Linked DNA regions of Homo sapiens: region 2 is linked to region 1. Evidence: promoter capture Hi-C in 16 types of primary human blood cells and fetal thymus (Javierre and others, 2016). All regions are on one chromosome and are shown on one strand. The core of a region is centred on a gene start or on the middle of the fragment in contact, and the rest is flanking DNA. Distances in the headings are between cores, read along the strand shown.

Region 1 (3,020 bases), core at 288-2,787:
GTGTGGTGGTGCGCGCCTGTAATCCCAGCTACTCGGGAGGCTGAGGCAGGAGAATCACCTGAACCCGGGAGGCGGAGATTGCAGTGAGCCGAGATGGCGCCACTGCACTCCAGCCTGGCTACAGAGCTAGACTCCGTCCCAAAAAATAAAATAGAATAAAATGGCCAAGAATCAGGGAGAGAACCTGTGCTGCTGCCTGTACAGATGCCCAGCGCCCGCCCAACACCACACAGAATCAGAATCTGCAGGGACTGAGCACCCGTGGTCTGGCATCTGAAGCCAGGCCATCTTGGTTCACATCCCTGCTCCTTCCCAGCTGTGTGACACGCCTTGGATAAGCGACTTAACCACGTTGACTCAGTCTCCTCATCAAGTGAATGGGGCTAACAGTATCTATACCTCCTACCAGGGAAAACAGTATGTCAAGACTTTGCACCACACCTGGTAACTACCCTAAATGCTCCACAAGACCAAGCACTTCCTATCATCATTCATTCATTACTGCAATTCGGTAGGGAAAACCCTCCAGTCACAGGGAGCACCGAATGGGGGAATCAGAGCCAGACAGGTAGAGAGCTTGCCTGCATTTGTGCAACTAGAAAAGGGGGGGAGCTAAAAATAGGCCTCAGAAGTCTTGAAGCTACAGCGATGGCAACACGACTATGGATGGAAGCAGACATCAGCCTTATGGTGCCTTCTCGGGGGATCTGGAAGTGTAACCTTGTCAAAAACACTCAGGTGGGCTGTCAGCGCTCCACAGAGGAGGGACTCGCACGGTCTCTTGTCTGGAAGTGCAGCAAAAAGGGCCAAAGAGCAGCCAGGGTTTTCGGCGGCCCAGATCCTGCGGCGGGGCCTAAATGAGGGGGAGACGAAGCGCCCCGAAGGATCCGGGGGGAACTGGCGGGAAGTGGGGGCCGAAGTTCGGGGCGGGGACGGGGTGAAAACGGCCTGGGCTTCCTCCGTCCGCGGTGTGCGGCTGGCCCGCGGAGGACGAGGGCCTCACGGGCTTAGGAGATAGGCAGCCAGGCCGGGGAAGGGGAGATGCCGGGTGGCGGAGGACGAGGGGGCGGGGAGGGAGCGTGGCGCGCTCCGGGCCACAACCAGGCCCTAAGGTCTATTTACATCCGTGGCCGAAGCACTGGGGCCGCGCCTCCCGCCCCCTTCAGCCCCGAGCTTGGCTGCGACGCAGAGGGGCCTTAGGGCTGCGATCCCGATGGCCACCCGGCTCCTCTAGCCAGACGGCTGCAGTGGCTGGGGTTGCCGGGAGTGATGGGCCGGGCCGGTGAGCCCGGCCTGAGGGGACGCAATAGGGGGCGGCTGCAAGGCCCGCCACGGCGCTAGCCTGGAGCGGACGAAACCCTTGCACTCTGCGGTGCTCCCCCCAAGGGCTTGTGGCCCCTAGTCCTCCCGCCGCCCGTTCCCCGGCCGCCAGCCGGTCCCCAACGGCGCCTCCCCTACCTTCGTTCGCCAGGTCCGCCATTTTACTTCCTTAAGCCCTCCCACAAGGCCCCGCGCCGGCCCAGGCTCGCCTGCTTTCTGCCAGAAACTCCCGCGCGTGCGCACTTAACAAGCCGACTCCGTGTGAGGCGGCCAGCTCGCGCCTGCGCGCTGAATGCCGCGCGGAGGCGAGCCCCGGATCGCCTGCCCTGCAGAGCAGCCTGCCCTGACGAGCCGCGCTCCTAGCACGCACCTGCGCACGAGCCATCTCCCGCCTCCTTTTCCCGCCGACTGAGAGGGCGGGGAAAGGGCCGGGAAGGGCGCATGCGCAGTGGCAGCGACTAAGGTTTAGTGAGGCGGCACCGCGCGGCCCGAGGCGGGTCTTGAAGCACTCGTTTTCCCACTCGTTTTCCGGGGTTCCCCCGCGGTGGGACAGTGAGCAGTTCAGGGCGCCGCAGCCGAGGCCTTCCTCCAGGTAAATCGCCGGGCCTGCGGGGGCTTCCCACACGCGCGGGCGGGAGACGCGTTGCCTCCTACCTCAGTTTACCCGCCTTAGGAGCCGGTACCTTCGGCAAACGCTTTCCTGAAACCACGGGGGAAGTGGCGAGAGGGCGCGGGGTGCTTGGGATTGGGGGGTAAATCAGAGCTCATCGGCGGGGGCGGGGGTCGTGGTCAGGCTCTAGGAGGGGGCGCAGCCCTGGGACCCAGGTGCTGGCGTTGGGGGCGGGGGGAGCCGGCGCGAGGGACTCGACCCCTCGGAGCTACGAGAATCAACTTCACAAGCTCATGGGAGGGGAACCGCGCGCCTCCAGGTTACCCATCTGTAAAATGGGACCATCAGCCTCACTCACAAGGCTCATGGGAGGGTCCTGGACACCCTGGAGTTGTTCTCTACTCACCTGCTATGAATCTCTCAGCAAATCCTTCGGACTTGGCCTTGCCTCCAAAATACAGCCCAGAGCCACCCATTGTCACCCCCAGGCTGTCACCACCCTAGGCCACATCGTCCGTATCTATCTCATGGAAGACTTGGACAGCGGCCTCTCTGCTATCCTTTGCTGCATTCTTTTGAAGCCCCAGGCTTGGTTCTGCACATGGCCGCAGGCTGAGGAGTCTTTGAAAAATATAATCAGCCAGACGCGGTAGCTCACCCCTGGAATCCCAGCACTGCGGGAGGCCAAGGTGGGAGGATCGCTTGAGCTCAGTTCAAAACCAGCCTAGGCAACAGAGCAAGACCCCATCTCTACAAAAACACAAAAATTACCCGGATGTGGTGGTGCAAGCCTGTGGTCCCAGCTACTTGGGAGGCTGAGGCAGGAGGATCACTTGAGCCCAGGAGGTTGAGGCTGCAGTGAGCTGTGACAGTGCCACTGCCACCATCCTAGGGACACAGCAAGAACCTCCCCCATATATATACACATATATACTTTGTTTTTATCTATATATATACACACAGATATATACATACACGTGTGCATATATATGTGTGTGTGTGTATATATATATATATACACATAGACTGAAAATGGAAATATCAAGGCCACTCAGTGCTTCCAGAGGGCTCTCAGCTGAACTTGGAATAT
Region 2 (3,165 bases), core at 227-2,726, 190 kb before region 1:
ATGTCATCGGCTGAGTTCCCACCACTGCTGTCAGGCAGGGCCGGCCCAGGGACCTCGCACAGGGTACCCTCAGGCTCAGAGGCGCCTGGCAGGCAGTCGAAGAGCTTCATGGCGTCCTCCAGCAGAACCTTGTCAGGCAGTGCCAAAGCTCTGGCCGTCTTGGGGGCCTTGGCCTTGCCTGCTCCCAGCAGGGCCCCCTCCTTGACCTCGGCCACCTTGAGCTCGCTGAGGCCCGGTGGGTACAGGGGCACCCCAGGTCGGGCCCCACTGCCCTGCAGCTCCTTGACGGGGAAGGCCAGGGGTTCGGGCCCAGGGAAGTGGCCGAGGTGACCCTGGAGGTGGCTGTAGGCGTCTGGGGGCAGTGTGGGCTCTGCAGGCAGCGTGATGAGTACAGGGGGCGGCTTGTTCTCCTTGGGGGGTGGGGGTGGCAGCGGGGCCGGGCCTTCCTCTAGGGGCGGTAGGGGCAGCTCCACGAAGGCGGCGGGCCCTGCGTCCCCCACAAAACCCAGAGCCTCTGGCCCGGGGCCCTCAGGCGGGAAGTAGGGCAAGAGAAACTGGGGCCCCCCGGGTGCCTGCTGGTAGTGGGGGTATGGAGGCAGCCCCGGGGCCTTGAGGTAGGGCTGAGGCTCCAGGAGGTAGCTGCCTGGGGCGGAGGGGACCCCCGCTGGCCCCCCGCTGCTTGCTGCCAGCTTATACAGGGCTGACTGGCCCAGGTCGGGGGTGGTCCACTCGATCCGATAGATGCGGGGGTCGAAGAAGCACCCGCATGGGGCCATCTGGAAACCTGTGGGCGGCAGGCGGGTGCCCTGAGAGCAGCTGCTGCCTGAGGGGCCCAGCCCAAGCCTGGGGGCCTGTTTGGGAGATGCCACAAGAACCTTGCCATTGGGGGGCCCCTTTGGGGGACGACATAGATATTGCTTTGGGGCCCTGGCTGGGTGATGGATGACACAGAGCTTGTCTTTGGGGCTCATCTGGGGGACCTGTGTGAAGCATGGGGAGCAGAGGCCATGCCTTCAGGCTCCCACTTAGGGACGGGGCAGGGGCAAGATGGGCCTGCACACTCAAACCCACTCCCAGCCTCGTCAAGGGCTCAGGGGAGGCCGGTACCTGCTGGTGGGGCTGGAAACACCTCTTTCTCTGGGTCTGGGGGATGATACAGGTTCAAGGAGCCTGTGGACAAAGGTGCCCAGGTGGGTAGGGCCCTTAGGCGGGTGGGCCCCTGAACCCTCTCCAGCAGGTGCTCCCACCCACCCGATCGTACCCATAGCGGGAGGAGGCTCGGCACAGGTGGGAGCAGGCTGGTTGCCCAGCACCTCAGCCCCCTCCAGACTCTGCGGGCTGAAACCTTCCTGGGGAGCTGCAGGGGCACAGAACGGTTTGGGGTGCTGCATGGGGCAGCGGGGGGCCCGGTCCAGACAGGCCAGGAGGGCGGCAGTGGGAGTGCAAGTGGCCCAACCGGAGAACAGGCTGAGAACCTGGTGGGGTTCTGTTTGCCTGGTTACTCGGGGCAGCGGGTTCCAGCCTGCAGCGCGCCCACTGGTTGGGGTTCTGGGTGTTGGGGGCAAGCAGGGGCAGACGTTGGCAGACATGGTCATCACCATGGGAGGGAGGATTCTGGGCCAGGCCTTTGCCTCTTCCAGCAACACCCCCCTAACAGCTTTGAGGCCGCCTCCTCCAGGCAGGCTGCCCTGATCCACACCCACACAGGCTGAGGCCCCCCGGGTCCTCAACCCGCTACCTTCTTGGGGGTCAAGGCCTCTCTGGGCACCAGCAGCACCCAGCTTGGGGCAGGGCCCATGGAGGCAGCTAAGAGGTTTGGGGAAGGTGGGGGCCGAGGAGGGGCTGCTTCAGGGTCACAGAAAGGCCTGGATTTTAAAAGAATAAAATTTATTGTACTCTCCTCGCCCCAGGGTGCCCCTGGGAAAGCCTGAGGCTACTTGTACGCGTTGGCCTTGTGCTTCGGCAAGAAGGCGAAGCTGGGGGGCACTGGCCCAAGGAGCATCTCGCTGTGGGAGAGCAGGTGGAAAGCGAGGTCAGGCCCAGGACCTGCAAAGTACCCTCCGTGACCCCGGGCCCCCGACTGCAGCTCCCCAACTCCAGCCCACCCAGGCACCTGATGCGGATCCAGTCGGCTGCCTTCTGGCTGGCCATCAGCGTCTCCAGGTAGTCGCGGCCCAGGTAGTAGGGCGGCCGCTCGTTGATCCTCTGTGGGAGCCGCTCCAGCAGCCCCACGGGCACGTACCTGCGGCGGGTGGGCGGGCAGGACAGGCTTGAGTCAGCTCTAACCAGCCGCGGCCCACGCGCCGCCCACCCCAGCCAGCCCCGGTGCCCACCGGCACAGGAAGGACAGCCACTCGAGCAGAAAGCGCCGGGTCTTCTCCACGCCCTGCGTGTCCGAGCCCCAGTGCTCCAGGCCGTAGTTGGTGAAGTCCCGCAGGATGTCCAGGCGCTCGGACGACGAGATGTCCCAGTGCCGCTGCTCCTTGATCTCCGTGAAGAGCCACGGCTTGAGCAGGGCGCCACTGTGGGACGGGTGACGATCAGTGGGCCCAGCCACCAGCCTGCCTGGGATCGTGTGGCCTCTGCTTCCATGGCCTGGCCTGAGCCGGAGCCCAGACCACAAAACCTACAAGCCTAGTAAGCCTCCCAGCTGCATGCACACAACCTTCAAAGCACAGGACTTTCTTTTGTTTTTTCTGAGACGGAGTCTGGCTCTGTCGCCCAGGCTGGGGTGCAGTGGTAAGATCTCGGCTCACTGTTCAACCTCCGTCTCCCAGGTTCAGGCAATTGTCCTGCCTCAGCCTCCCTAGTAGTTGGGATTACAGGCGTGTACCACTACACCTGGCTAATTTTTGTATTTTTAATAGAGATGTTTCACCATGTTGGTCAGGCTAGTCTTGAACCTCCGACCTCAAATGATCGGCGTGCCTTGGCCTCCCAAAGTGCTGGGATTACAGGCGTGAGCCACACACCTGGCCAAAGCCCAGGACTTTCAACCCACAATCATCAGATCCCACAGCAGCAGCAATTTCCAGTCCCCTCTGCCGCAACGCAGCTGCAACTCCTGACATCGCTCTCTGCTCCTCCCATCTTGGGACCAACAGCCCACCACAGAACAGGGGTGGGTGACGGCGTGTTGGGTTCAGGGCACTGCTGCTGTGCATG

What was found. Contacts are between HindIII fragments. The CHiCAGO score rates a contact against its expected background, and 5 or more counts as called.
Region 2: a contact is called between the fragment with the promoter of PRR22 here and the fragment with the promoter of RANBP3 in region 1, in 1 of 17 cell types (naive CD4 T cells). The highest score is 5.3, in naive CD4 T cells.

Annotation. Positions count from the first base shown.
Region 1 is chr19:5,976,603-5,979,622 of GRCh38, forward strand. RANBP3 (RAN binding protein 3) reads right to left here and starts at 1,538. Exons shown (of 17, transcript NM_007322.3): 1 at 1,459-1,538. The coding sequence starts at 1,480. RANBP3-DT (RANBP3 divergent transcript) reads left to right here and starts at 1,801. Exons shown (of 4, transcript NR_046376.1): 1 at 1,801-1,912. RefSeq lists silencers at 1,322-1,431, 1,662-1,831, 1,882-1,931. The HindIII fragment of the contact is 6,470 bases long and covers 1-3,020 here.
Region 2 is chr19:5,783,270-5,786,434 of GRCh38, forward strand. PRR22 (proline rich 22) reads right to left here and starts at 1,477. Exons shown (of 3, transcript NM_001134316.2): 1 at 1,262-1,477; 2 at 1,108-1,170; 3 at 1-784. The coding sequence starts at 1,391. DUS3L (dihydrouridine synthase 3 like) reads right to left here. Exons shown (of 13, transcript NM_020175.3): 11 at 2,334-2,522; 12 at 2,114-2,242; 13 at 1,871-2,006. The coding sequence ends at 1,934. The HindIII fragment of the contact is 18,380 bases long and covers 1-3,165 here.